Linked DNA regions of Homo sapiens: regions 2 and 3 are each linked to region 1. The links are contacts of gene promoters, found by promoter capture Hi-C in blood cells and fetal thymus (Javierre and others, 2016). All regions are on one chromosome and are shown on one strand. Each heading gives the region's core, a stretch centred on a gene start or on the middle of the fragment in contact. The rest is flanking DNA. Distances are from core to core; before and after follow the strand shown. Region 1 holds the start of MIR1915HG (MIR1915 host gene). Region 2 holds the start of PIP4K2A (phosphatidylinositol-5-phosphate 4-kinase type 2 alpha). Region 3 overlaps PIP4K2A (phosphatidylinositol-5-phosphate 4-kinase type 2 alpha).

The links. The method cuts DNA at HindIII sites, captures the fragments that hold promoters and counts their contacts. A CHiCAGO score of 5 or more calls a contact.
Region 2: a contact is called between the fragment with the promoter of PIP4K2A here and the fragment with the promoter of MIR1915HG in region 1, in 3 of 17 cell types (neutrophils, total CD4 T cells and naive CD4 T cells). The highest score is 6.6, in neutrophils.
Region 3: a fragment that was not itself captured here is called in contact with the fragment with the promoter of MIR1915HG in region 1 in 2 of 17 cell types (total CD4 T cells and naive CD8 T cells); the score reaches 5.3 in total CD4 T cells.

Annotation. Positions count from the first base shown.
Region 1 is chr10:21,495,218-21,499,054 of GRCh38, reverse strand. It overlaps MIR1915HG (MIR1915 host gene), which reads left to right and starts at 1,795. Exons shown (of 2, transcript NR_160800.1): 1 at 1,795-2,305; 2 at 3,110-3,837. MIR1915 (microRNA 1915) reads left to right here and starts at 2,414; the gene lies at 2,414-2,493. RefSeq lists silencers at 2,315-2,564, 2,775-2,824, 2,875-3,314 and an enhancer at 3,739-3,837. The HindIII fragment of the contact is 8,649 bases long and covers 1-3,837 here.
Region 2 is chr10:22,712,939-22,716,775 of GRCh38, reverse strand. PIP4K2A (phosphatidylinositol-5-phosphate 4-kinase type 2 alpha) reads left to right here and starts at 2,198. Exons shown (of 10, transcript NM_005028.5): 1 at 2,198-2,593. The coding sequence starts at 2,450. RefSeq lists enhancers at 1,336-1,943, 1,944-2,552 and silencers at 1,713-2,382, 2,683-2,762, 2,933-3,052, 3,353-3,462. The HindIII fragment of the contact is 12,209 bases long and covers 1-3,837 here.
Region 3 is chr10:22,568,834-22,572,670 of GRCh38, reverse strand. All of the region lies in intron 5 of PIP4K2A (phosphatidylinositol-5-phosphate 4-kinase type 2 alpha), which reads left to right. Among named protein-coding and RNA genes, the nearest start is that of LINC03027, 130 kb to the right of the region's middle. The HindIII fragment of the contact is 1,931 bases long and covers 1,003-2,933 here.

The sequences.
Region 1 (3,837 bases), core at 546-3,045:
GTGGGAAAATATAAAATCCAAGTGCAGAGAATCACTCCGTTATATATTGACCTAAAGTTTTAATTGTACTAAGGGGGAAATAAAAGTGGAAACCCTCTATACTTTCCAGAATTTTAGATAGAGCACTGACAGGGAAAATGCATGGATTTGGTAGCGGAGGTACTAAGAATATTTGTGTGGTATACAACATGTCATACTTGGGAGACACTTTATTGGAAAAATAAGTAGAGAGTTTTTTGTATGTATGAGAAAAATATCATAACCATTTCCACTTAAAAAGTGAAGATCATTCTGATGCCCCAAAATAACTGAGGCTAAGAAATAATTAGATACCTTAAAGCTACAGTCTAAATTTCCATGACTGTTTGGAAGACTTCTCTCCAACGCGGGAGGGGAATTTGTTTTTTAATGTCAAAGGTTGTGTTAGCATGTACATTTAACCCAGGAAATTGTGAGAACTCTCTTCAACTCAAGTTGGAAAAAGGGAATGTGTTTGAGCAAAGTCTATTTTTAACAACAGAAAAGTGTGAGTTAAAGTGGACTGTGTGTTAGGTTGGGAATATAATCCATGGCAACTTCACTATACAAGTATTTTTGATTCTTCAGTGGAACTCATCCTCAAATTTTAGTAACTTGAAAAATTGAAGTCTTAAGTATTGTGTATTAAACTGAACCAAGAGATCACAGAAAGACAAAGCTATGGTAAAAGATGTTATAGTTATATTCTCATAGATTTAGTAGGAAAATCACAGCAAAGGAAATGCACCAGGAAGATATGAAATAGAGGAAATATGTTACAAATAATGAAATAGAAGGAGTTGCTGCACAATATAGCTTCACAATCTTATATTTTGAGGGGTAGGTTTTAATGAGAAGCCTCTGCATTGCATGGGAACTGGGAGTCGTAAGAATTATTTATGCAGTAAGAAGGAAAAAAATTAATTATTAGGAGCTCAATAATCACCAAATAAACTCTGAGCTTGGAGGTTAAAAATAGACGGCTATCTTCATGTTCAATTATACAGTATCAATTACTAATACAACTGATGTTTCAGTGTCTCAGCGAGAACAGATACCATCTTCTATGGAGATATCTTGGTATTAATTAATGACTGCTTTATTCTCATTATTCACAAGGAAAAATAGGGGTCGTGTCACATTAAAATTAAGATTATCTTAGTTTATCTGGGCTCTTAAACAAAGATCATTCAAAGTAATTATACTTTGAATTAATCGAGGTAGGCAATTTATCTCGTTATTTTTTTTTGTTCAAAGACAGGAAAATAAAGATCAGAAATAAGCAAAGTTTCATTTTGAAGATAGAAAGAACCAAACAAACATGTCTTGACTTTTGCAGTATTTCCCTTGCTAAAGGGGGAATGAGGGAACTGTAAAAGACGTGACTTTGCAAAGTCAAGTCCTTTTTAAAAGACTCGGATCGAAATTCTTGCTATGCAACAAGGATTCAAGTTTGATTAATTTTCTGCAAGCGACGTGACAGCGGTGTTTTAAAAGATTAATTAAAATTGAAGTGATACGGAGCAGGAATTCAACCTGCAGAGGCGTCCCTGGCGCCTTGGGGGGCTTTGTAAGCGAGTCCCAAGCCCGAACTGCGGGCTTTCCCGAGCCTGGGACGCAACTCCCCGTCTCCTGGAGAGGAACGCGGAATTTGGCAGGGCGCCCGCCTGGCCGCCTGGCATCCTGAGCTGGCCGCCAGCTCTCGGGGGGTGGGGACTGGGTGTGTCCTGGGGAACCCGCTGCCGAGAGAGCAGCTAGCGCAGCTCGCGACGAGCCATTGAGGACCAGGGTCGCGCCGAGAGGCCGGAGGGGGCTCCAGGCAGCCTGGAGCTGACGGCGCCGGGCTGCGTCCTCTTCACCTGGGGGTGGGGGGTGGGGGCACGTACTTTGTGACCAGGATGGTGCCGAGCCCCCTCTACGGCGGGAGCTTGCAGGGGTGCGGGGGTGTGACTGGCGCTCCGCGGACTCGTGTCCACAGTACAGAGGACATGTAGGGTTCGGCCGGGGCGCGGCTGCACCGGGGCCTGCCTCGCGGACCTGGACTCGGGACTCCGGGCGGCCCTGCCTGGTGCCATTGCCTCAGCCAAGTCTCCCACCTCTCTGCTCGGTTTCCCGCCCCACCTTTCCCCTACTACCGCATCCCTGTCCCCTCGCTTCCCTCCGCGATGTCTCCATCCGAGTAAGAAACGAAGCTGAACGCATTGGTAACTGTGCTCAAGAAGATGCAATCGCGGGAGCCCTCAGGGTGGCGCACGGCGGAGAGGCGACGCGGGTGGCGCTGCAGAGGGTACGGTGGGGGGCGGGGAAGAGGGGGGCGTTCGTGTGCAATTAGCCTCCCCAGGGCGCGGACCACGGTGTCCCCTTCTCTCCAGCTGGGGGTCTCGGGTCCTGGCGCTGAGAGGCCGCACCTTGCCTTGCTGCCCGGGCCGTGCACCCGTGGGCCCCAGGGCGACGCGGCGGGGGCGGCCCTAGCGACCTGCGGCGGCGCCGGGAAAGCCCTGCCTCTGCAGCGGGTCCCAGGGGTCGGGGCCTGGAAGGGTCCCTGGGAATGCTCCGCGCCGAGAAGGCTCTGTGGTTTCTCCTCCCCCACACGTCTCCCTCTCCTCCCCTCTTCCCGGGGACCTCAGAGGTGGCGGGGAAGTGGGAAGGGAGGCGGGCTTGCAGACCGTGCAGGCTGGGGAGCCGGAGCTCGGGAGTTGGGGGAGTCCGAGTGAGAACGGAAGCGCGTGGACGCGATGGAAGGGGCCGGGGGAAAGGGGGACGGCACTGGGGAGGGCTGGGGTGCGGGGCAGGCGACAGTCCCTTCCCCTCCGAGCGGCGCGGGGGACCTCTTCCCCGGGGAACCCCCACCCAGCCGTTCCCAACCTCGAGAACAAAGGGTCTGGGAAGCACGGTCGGGGTCGGGGAGCGGAGGTGGAGGGAGGCAGGAAGGCAGGCGGTGGGGGCAGGGGAGGGCGCCTCCCCACGTTTCCTCTCGCGGCCGAATGATGGAAAGCTCCCTCCAGCAAACGCCTCACTGAGGCCGCTTCTGAATCCGGGAGGGTTCGGGTTCGTTACCTAACGGCTGCACTTCGCTCCCTTCCTCCCCCAGCGTCCCCACCCCCTCCGGGGACCGGGGCCCCGGAGCTGCCAGGCCCGCTGCACGCGGCGGCGCGGGAGAAACCACGGGGCAGCAGCGCCCCCTGCAGGTGCCGGGCGCCTCCGCAGCCGCTGCGCGGACCCGACTCTTAAGGTGGCACCACCGGGTTCCCAGCCCGCGCGCAACCCGCAGCCCTGGCTCCATCCGCCGCACTTCTCCCTGTAGCGGCGGGCCTGACCGTCCGGAACGGCCGGAGTGTGCTGATGCCTGCTGCTATCTGCTTGATCCCTTCACCCTACCTCTCATCCAGGACTTCTTCCGCGGATGCGCAGCTAGCGATTTCGACAGGCGAGATTGAAAATTCCGGGCGAGTATATGAGGTTGAGTAAGTCCCGCTTCAGGGAGGAACGACCAGAATGACATTTCTTTAAGCCTAAATCAAACTTTTATTTTCGTTTATAAAAAGCAGAAGGCCAGCAGGAAAGGGTCGCGGAGGACTGGCACATCCACAACCGTAGGACTCTTGGATCCAAGTTTTTAGGCTGAGACTGGGCGGTCCGGGGTTCTCCTTCGGCGCTCACACCCCGCAAACTCGTGGGCAGTGCAGTGCTGGAGGCCGGGGGCAGTGGCGGACCCGCAGGGTAACCTTGTCTCGCGCACCTCCCGAGCCCCCAGCAGCCCACTCTCGTCCGAATGCTTTGTTTATTTGGTGACACCAGGGAACGTGGAGAAGAAGATCG
Region 2 (3,837 bases), core at 949-3,448, 1.2 Mb before region 1:
GGGTCTCCATCTATTACCCAAGCTAGAGTGTAGTGGCATTATCACAGCTCACTGCAGCCTCCAACTCCTGGGCTCAAGCAATCCGCCTACTGCAGCCTCCAGAATAGCTGAGACTACAGGTGTGTACCACCATGCCTGGTTAATTTTTGTATTTATGGTAGAGATGGGGTTTCACCATATTGCTCAGGCTGGTCTCCAACTCCTGGGCTCAAGCAGTCCACCTGCCTCATGCCTCCCAAAGTGCTGGGACTACAGGCATGAATCACTGCCCCCTTCCTAAATGGTCCCAGTTTAAGTGAGTGTAGGGGTGTGTGTGTGTGTGTGTGGTGTGTGTGTGTGTGTGTGTGTGTGTGTGTGTGTCTTGCAACAGAATGGCATCCTATCCAGGGATGGTTCCCACCTTTTGCCCAAGCTGAGCAGCTGGGATAAGGCTCCCACTATCTGTGACCTTGAACTGGAATAAATGAGTTGGAAAAATGAATAAATCCGTGAAACAAATGACTGTAAAATAAAAATATGTAAGTGTACATTAATCATAAAAATGCACGACAATAAATGAGATAGGAGTGCACTCAGCTACCATATTTGTGATTGTTTTTGAATTTCATGGTAGCAGCAGGTCCTACAGGCAACTTTTGCTTTGCAAACACTTATTCCTTGACTTAACCCAGCACCACAGCAACCATCGCTCACTTAATCACTAGAAATTTGGCAAACCATTATCTTGTTTTTATCAATCTTTAAAAAATGTAGGTAGGCCAGGTGCAGTGGCTGGTGCCTGTATTCCCAGCACTTTAGGAGGCCAAGGTGGGCAGATTCCTTAAGCCCAGGAGTTCGAGACCAACCTGGGCAGCATGGTGAAACCCCATCTCTACCAAAAATACAAGAAGTTTATCCAGGCTTGGTGGTGCGCGCCTGTAGTCTCAACTACTGGGGAGTCTGAAGTGGGAGAATCACCTGAGTCTGGGGAAGTAGAGCCTGCAGTGAGCTGTGATTGCACCACTGCACCCCCAGCCTGGTTGACACAGCGAGACCCTATCTCAAGGGAAAAAATAAAAATAAAAAAGAGGTATAGCTCACATTTATTTTAATGTTTAATATTAGAAGTGTTTTGAATTTTTACTTTGAAGTTCGGTGATGTTTTTGTAACCGGAAATAATGCTGTAGGAACTTAACTCTTTTTTTATATGTCAGCCTATGGCAAATTTGGTTTTGTTATATGTTGTTTTGCTTAAGGTGACAGTTTCCAAGAACCTACTCCGTGAGGACTGGTGAGCTGGGTCAGAGTAAATAGCACAGGATGACGACTGCAAGGACGATATGGGGGCAGCAGGGTTTTAGACATACTTGGAATGGCAGCTTCCTGAGGTAGGCCAAGTATTCTCAGCATAATAAGGGCTACATTTAGGTGTATCTGGAGGAAGACGGTGAACAGATTTCCACGGACGGTGAGTGCACTGGAAAACAGGCAGGGATGGCAAGTACCATAGTGATGGATTGGAAGAAGGTGCACTTTGGGGCATGATTCTACTGGTTAAGCCAAGGGCTCTCGATGAGGTCCGAGGTTCCTGCCCCGGGCACGGAGTGGGTTGGCAGTGACAGCCCAGCCTATTACGTGGGAGTCTCCCTCTTGAATGGCTCCAGGAGGCCCATATCGAGGGTCTGAAAGGCCAGACGGTTATCCGCACAAAAGTATTAAGTTCATTTCAGGGACTGACCCGGCAATGTGCCCGGGTCCTTCCCCTCGGTGCTGGGAAGCCCTGGTCTCCCTGCAGCATTTCACACCTGGCTGGGTCTCCTGACTCGTGGCGTGGGTGAGTGCATGAGCCTCCCTCCTTCGCCTGATCGACGCCTGGGGGCTCCTCTCCCCAACCTCCTCACTCTGCCCACTCTGTCCTCTCCCTCCTTGGGGAGCGGCAGGGGACGCCTAGCCGGGGTCCCCAGGCTCCCGCTCGCAACCCACGGCCTCCTCCGCGGGCAGGGAGCGAACGCCCGGAGGTCGCCCGCGCACAGGGGGCGGCCCGGCTGCAGCGGAGCCGGGGCGGGAAGGCGCAGCCTAACGGTCCAGCTGCCGCGCCCCGCGCCCCGCACCCAGTGCCCCGCCCGCGGCGCCGCAGCCGCCTCCCGCCTGCCCGCCCGCCCCCTGCGTCATGACGCCGGCGCCCAACGCGGAAGCCGCTCGCCGCGCGCCGGGTCCAGCCGCGGGCTGAGCGCGGATCCGCGGCGGGCGCAGGATACGGGCCGGGGCGCGAGCCGAGCGCAGTCTGCCGGGCCGAGCGGGCGGAGCGAGCCGAGTGGGGCTGAGCGCGCCGGCGGCGGCGGGCGGAGCGGAGCGCGGCGCGCCGGGGCCGCCGCCGGGGGGATGCGGCTGCCTCCCCGGGCCGGGGTGTAGAGAGGGCGGGTCCCCGGCCTCGGGAGCACGGCGGTGGAGGGGACATAGGAGGCGGCCATGGCGACCCCCGGCAACCTAGGGTCCTCTGTCCTGGCGAGCAAGACCAAGACCAAGAAGAAGCACTTCGTAGCGCAGAAAGTGAAGCTGTTTCGGGCCAGCGACCCGCTGCTCAGCGTCCTCATGTGGGGGGTAAACCACTCGGTAAGGGCTCAGCTGCGGCGCGCGGTCCCCTTCCTCCTCCTCCTCTTCCTCCTCGTTCCCCTCCTCCTCCGGCTGCAGCTGCTGCGGGGCGGGGAGCCGGAGTCAGCCCTGGACCTCCGGCTGCTCGCCCGCCTCGAAGCCCCCAGCCCCGCGGCGCGTGCCCCCAGCCCTCTGGGCCGCCCAGGCACCACCACTTGCGTCCCCTTTAGATCTATGGCCCGGTGCGGGTCGGGGGTCCCGTGTGCATGTGAGTCTCACGGTGGGTGCCAGTGCCGCCCCCGGTCCGCCCGCCCGCCCGCAGGTCGGTCCCCGCAGCCTGGGAGGTAGGAAGTTTGTGCGGGGCACGGCGCCTCGGCTGTCAGCCCCGGCGGGAGCTGCTGGGGGCCGGGTCCGGGCGACCGCTACCCGGTGTGGGGGCCGCGCGGCGCCCGCGTCTTCCGCTTGCGGGCAGGTGTACCTGTCCCGGGCTGGGCGCGTGCGAGCCTCCCACTGGGGCACTGGGGCGAGGATACCGGAGCGCGAGCAGATTTGGGGCAGCAGCTTTAGTGCTTAGGTCCTTTCTTTTTCCTTTAAAGGCAATATTACTGGGCACAAGTCGGCTTTTTGGCAAAGCAGCAGCCGATGTAAATATGGCTCTGGCGTCGGGCGGCATCCCTGCGCTTCTCCCGCATCGCCCTGCCGCTGTGCGGGCTGGAGAGCCCTTGGCGGGGAGTCTTCCTCCCTTCGTCGCCTCCCCCCACTTTGGGGAGTCAGGCAGAAGTCACCGACTGCGGAAGGGCGGCCGGGGCGGGGACAGCAGGCGGGGGTCCCGGCGGGCGCGGGCGGAGGGGGTCCCGAGTTGGCCGCACCCGCTGTGGGGGGTGTGGGAAAGGCTGGAGAACGCGTGGAAAGGTTAGCGTCACGCACAGTCGGGGATTGGAGGATGCGCCGCTGCGGGCTATGCGGACTGCGGTTCGAGGGTCTGAAATAGCCTCCTGCTGATCTGACAGCGAGAAACTCCTGCAGTTTTAATCCACTTCGATAGGATCAGGAAACATGATCGGAGCTGTTGGCTCAGCCAGGAAAGTTTAAACGAGCTGTGAATTTTGACCATGACCTTAGCCACTGCAGTCACTTAGCATCTGGGGAAAAGTGTAAGTTCGCTTTCCCTGCTTTTGATTTCGATGGATGTCTGTATGTCCTTTTCAGCGTAATGGAAATGACAGAAAACCATGCTGGTTTTTCGGAAAACACACACACAGACA
Region 3 (3,837 bases), core at 719-3,218, 1.1 Mb before region 1:
TATGACTTTCCTGAATTCCAAATCCTACTTGAGGGACTTTTTTTTCTTTTCTTTTCTTTTTTTTTTGAGAAAGAGTCTTCCTCTGTTGCTCAGTCTGGAGCGCAGTGGCTCAATCTTGGCTCATGGCAACCTCTGCCCCACTGGCTCAAGCAGTCCTCCCACGTAGCTGGGACCACAGGCACGCACCACCATGCTCAGCTAATTTTTTGTATTTTTTGGTGGAGACAGGATTTCACCATGTTGCCCAGGCTGATCTTGAACTCCTGAGCTCAAGCAATCCACCCACCTTGGCCTTCCAAAGTGCTGGGATTATAGGCATGAACCACCGCGGCTGGCTGGGCCAATTTTATAAATACATTTTTATTGGAATACCACGATGCCCCTTGTTTCTGTATTGTCTGTTACTGCTTTTGCACTGTAATGGCAGAGTTTGGTAGTTACCGCAGAGACCATTTGGGACCACAAAGCCTAAAACGTTTACCCACTGACTGTTTGCAGAAAAGTTTGCCAAACTCTGGTCTCTGACATTTGGTTCTCAAGTTTTTTGGTCTCAACGCTTTCACGCTCTTACAAGAGGACACTCGAAAGCTTTTGCAGATGTGAGTTGTGTCTGTGGATATTTACAGTATTAAAAATTAATATAAGAAATATTAGAATATGTAGTTTCTTTAAAAATGAGAAAAACATTACATGTTAACATTTTTATGAAAAATAACTATTTTCCAAAAGCAAAAACATGAATGAGACAAGTAGCATTGTTTTACATTTTTGCAAATCTCCGTAATGTCTTGACTTAATGTGAGATAGTTGGAATGTCCTGTCTGATTCCGCTGTCAGTCTGTGTGGTGTTATGCCGCTGAAGTATGTGAAGAAAATCTGAACTCACACAATAATGAAGTTTGGAAAGTTGTTAAAGCATGTTTTAACAACTTTTTTGGATAATTGTAGATATTCTTCTTTGATACTACACCAAAGCTTGACAAGAGGTAATTTCTCAAAGCTTAGTTACATTATGAAATCTGAAATCATATCAATGAACTTTTTGTACTCTTCATCGAAATCCATTGATTGGTTTGCATGCATTGTTTGAATGTGTGATTTTGCCAAGGCATGCACTTGCCATTTGGAACACATTGGTTCACTGAGTTATTTGACTCTTCCAAATATTGACACATTTCATTATACAGTATCAAAAAGTCATAACAGTGTTACCACCAATGTCATCAGAAAAGTCTTTTACATATTGGGAAGCGGTCAGGCCCAGGATGGTGGATATAAGTTTTTTAAAAATCAGTTTTTTACTTGGAATCTCAAATTTTATCACTGGCCACAAGCCCTGTCAGTTGTTTTCTGTGAAATGACCACATGTAGCAAGCACCCCAGCATACAGGGGAGCCTAGCAGCTTCATTCATTTTGTAGCAAACATCAGTCACATGCCCAGATCTAAATAAACATAGACTGTCAGTTGTTCTTTCAAGTAAAAGTGTTGTTTCATGAAAAAGATGGCCAGTTCAACTCATAACTCAAACCGTCACGAAAACAGTTCTTAAGAAATCATTCCTTCTTTATAAACAGAAGTGCTTTATGTATATTTCCTGCACAGAATATTGAAAAGACGTGTACTCCTGGGTCTAGATTTGATACATTTAATGTTATGCTTTCATGTGTTTACTAGATGCCTACTTGTATGACACACCATCTTAGCCAGAAGTTCAGCAACTCGTACACAGCTCACAAGTCACAAAAACCAGGATGTGTGGCTTCAGAGGTTTCTGAAATGACGCTGGGTTTCTTAGATGGTGCTGGTTTTTTTCATTGTTTTTTTTTTTTAAATCACAAACACTACTAATACCCACTGTTGCCACTGTTTGACTTATGCTAAACTGCTAGCAGTTCTTCCCACCATTGTTTTTGCATTATTTATACAAATATCAAGACGCTGAAAAAGGCAAATAATTTCTCAGTATTATTATAAAAATAGTTTTGGCTTTGTATAGTTTTGGTCTTGGGACCCCAGGGTTCTGAACCATGCTTAGAGAAATGCTAGTCTAAGTGAAGGAAATGGTCTGGGCTTGTCTCCTAACCTCTGAAGTCCCCACACACTGGATCCACTTCCCAAATACACCCTTGTCCTGTCCTGTCTTAAAGTCTTCGCCCAAGCAAGCCATTTTGTGCCCCTGGAATTGCCCCTGGGGAAATCCCAGCCATCCTCCAGGGCCCTTGCCAGCACCAGCTCTTTTCGTGAAGCCTTGGCGGTACTGCTCAGAGCACACAGGACTCTGTCTGACTTCCCCAGGGAAGAAAGCCAGAGTGACCTCTAAAGTCACATGTTGTTCTTTTATGACTTGTTAACCTTGTGTAAGTTGCTGAACCTCTATGACCCTCCGTCTCTTCATCTGTTAAAATAGGGATAATTTTACCTACATTTGCAGGGATGTTTTGAGAATTAAATAAGATACATATGTATTGTGTCCAGCGTGAGGCATGGCATATGGGAGTTAATGAATCTTGGTTGCCTCATTCATTCTCCTGATGTGTAAGTGCCTCAAGGGCAAGTATGTTCTTCTACTTAACTTTTTTTTTTTTAATCCCCCTGCAATGCCTAAGATAGCGCCTCGGACAAGTAGGCATCTGGTAAACATATCTTGGAGTAAATTATACTTAGAGATTGGATATTCTAGTTTTAATTTGCCTTGCTTTTTTCACAGTTTCATCTCCCTTTCTGGCTTGTGGCATAGATAAACTCTGTTCTTGCCAGTGCTCTCAGTTGTGATGGAACCTGTACATCTGGCATTGTTTCATGGCTTAAACTCTTGGCCTTCCTTTTCTATTTTTTTTAATAATTTTTTATTGTGAATTAATTTAAACTTGGATGAGTTTTGTGTTTTGTTGTTCCCAAGCTAATGATCAGCATTTGCATACAGATGAAGCTTCCCTGAGAATCAGAAGCAGGGTGGATTATATTGTAGGAGAGGAAACACACACACAGACACAGACAGACACACACACACACAGACACACACACCCCAAGAACTTGGTTAAGAATTCAAAGTAGAATAGTTTCTTCCTGTTCCCAGCATCATAGGCAGTGCTCAAGTATTACAAATGTCCCATTTTTAAAAAGTATTTGGGAACATTCGTTGTGAAAAATCAGTGTGTAAAGGAAGGTACTTCTGGTCCATATTCAGGAATCCCTAAAGGAAGGAAAGTAGACCATGGCAAGTAACAGTTGCTGGGCATGGCTGTGCAGAGGGGCTCGGACTGTGGTCGTAGAATGGGTTCTCAGGTTTGCCTTCATGAATGGTTCACATTATCTGTCTCCATCTGATGGGTCAGCTTTGGGCTGCTCTGAATCGCCCTGAGAAACATTGAACATTTTCCCTGGGCCAGCAGCAGCGTCCCTCGGATCTTCCAGTCCTGGGGGCACTGAGCACCAGGGGGATGGAAGATCGGCCCTGGGGAGACCCCCCCAGCCTGGTCTTGGCTCCCTTCCCCAATGTGAGGAGTCTCTTCCGTTCAAGTTTCCGCATCTGTGAATTGCAGGAAGCTCAATCCTAGTCAATGCCTGAGCTGCTCGATGAAAGCCAGTAATCAAAAATTTTGATTTCTTTGCAGATGGCCAATCTAAAAGCCACTTTCACTTTTCCCAAGCCAACTGTAAGTTCATTTAATGAATGGCTAACTCAAGTAACCCAGGGCAATAGATGTCTTTTCATCAGGTGGTAAAGAAGCAAGTGGCTTGGCTGACCTCACGATAGTTAGGGGTGTCCAGTGCAGGAGGGGAAGGGAGCCCAGGAAATTGGCCTGTGATTCTTCTCCAGCCATTTATGCAGTAA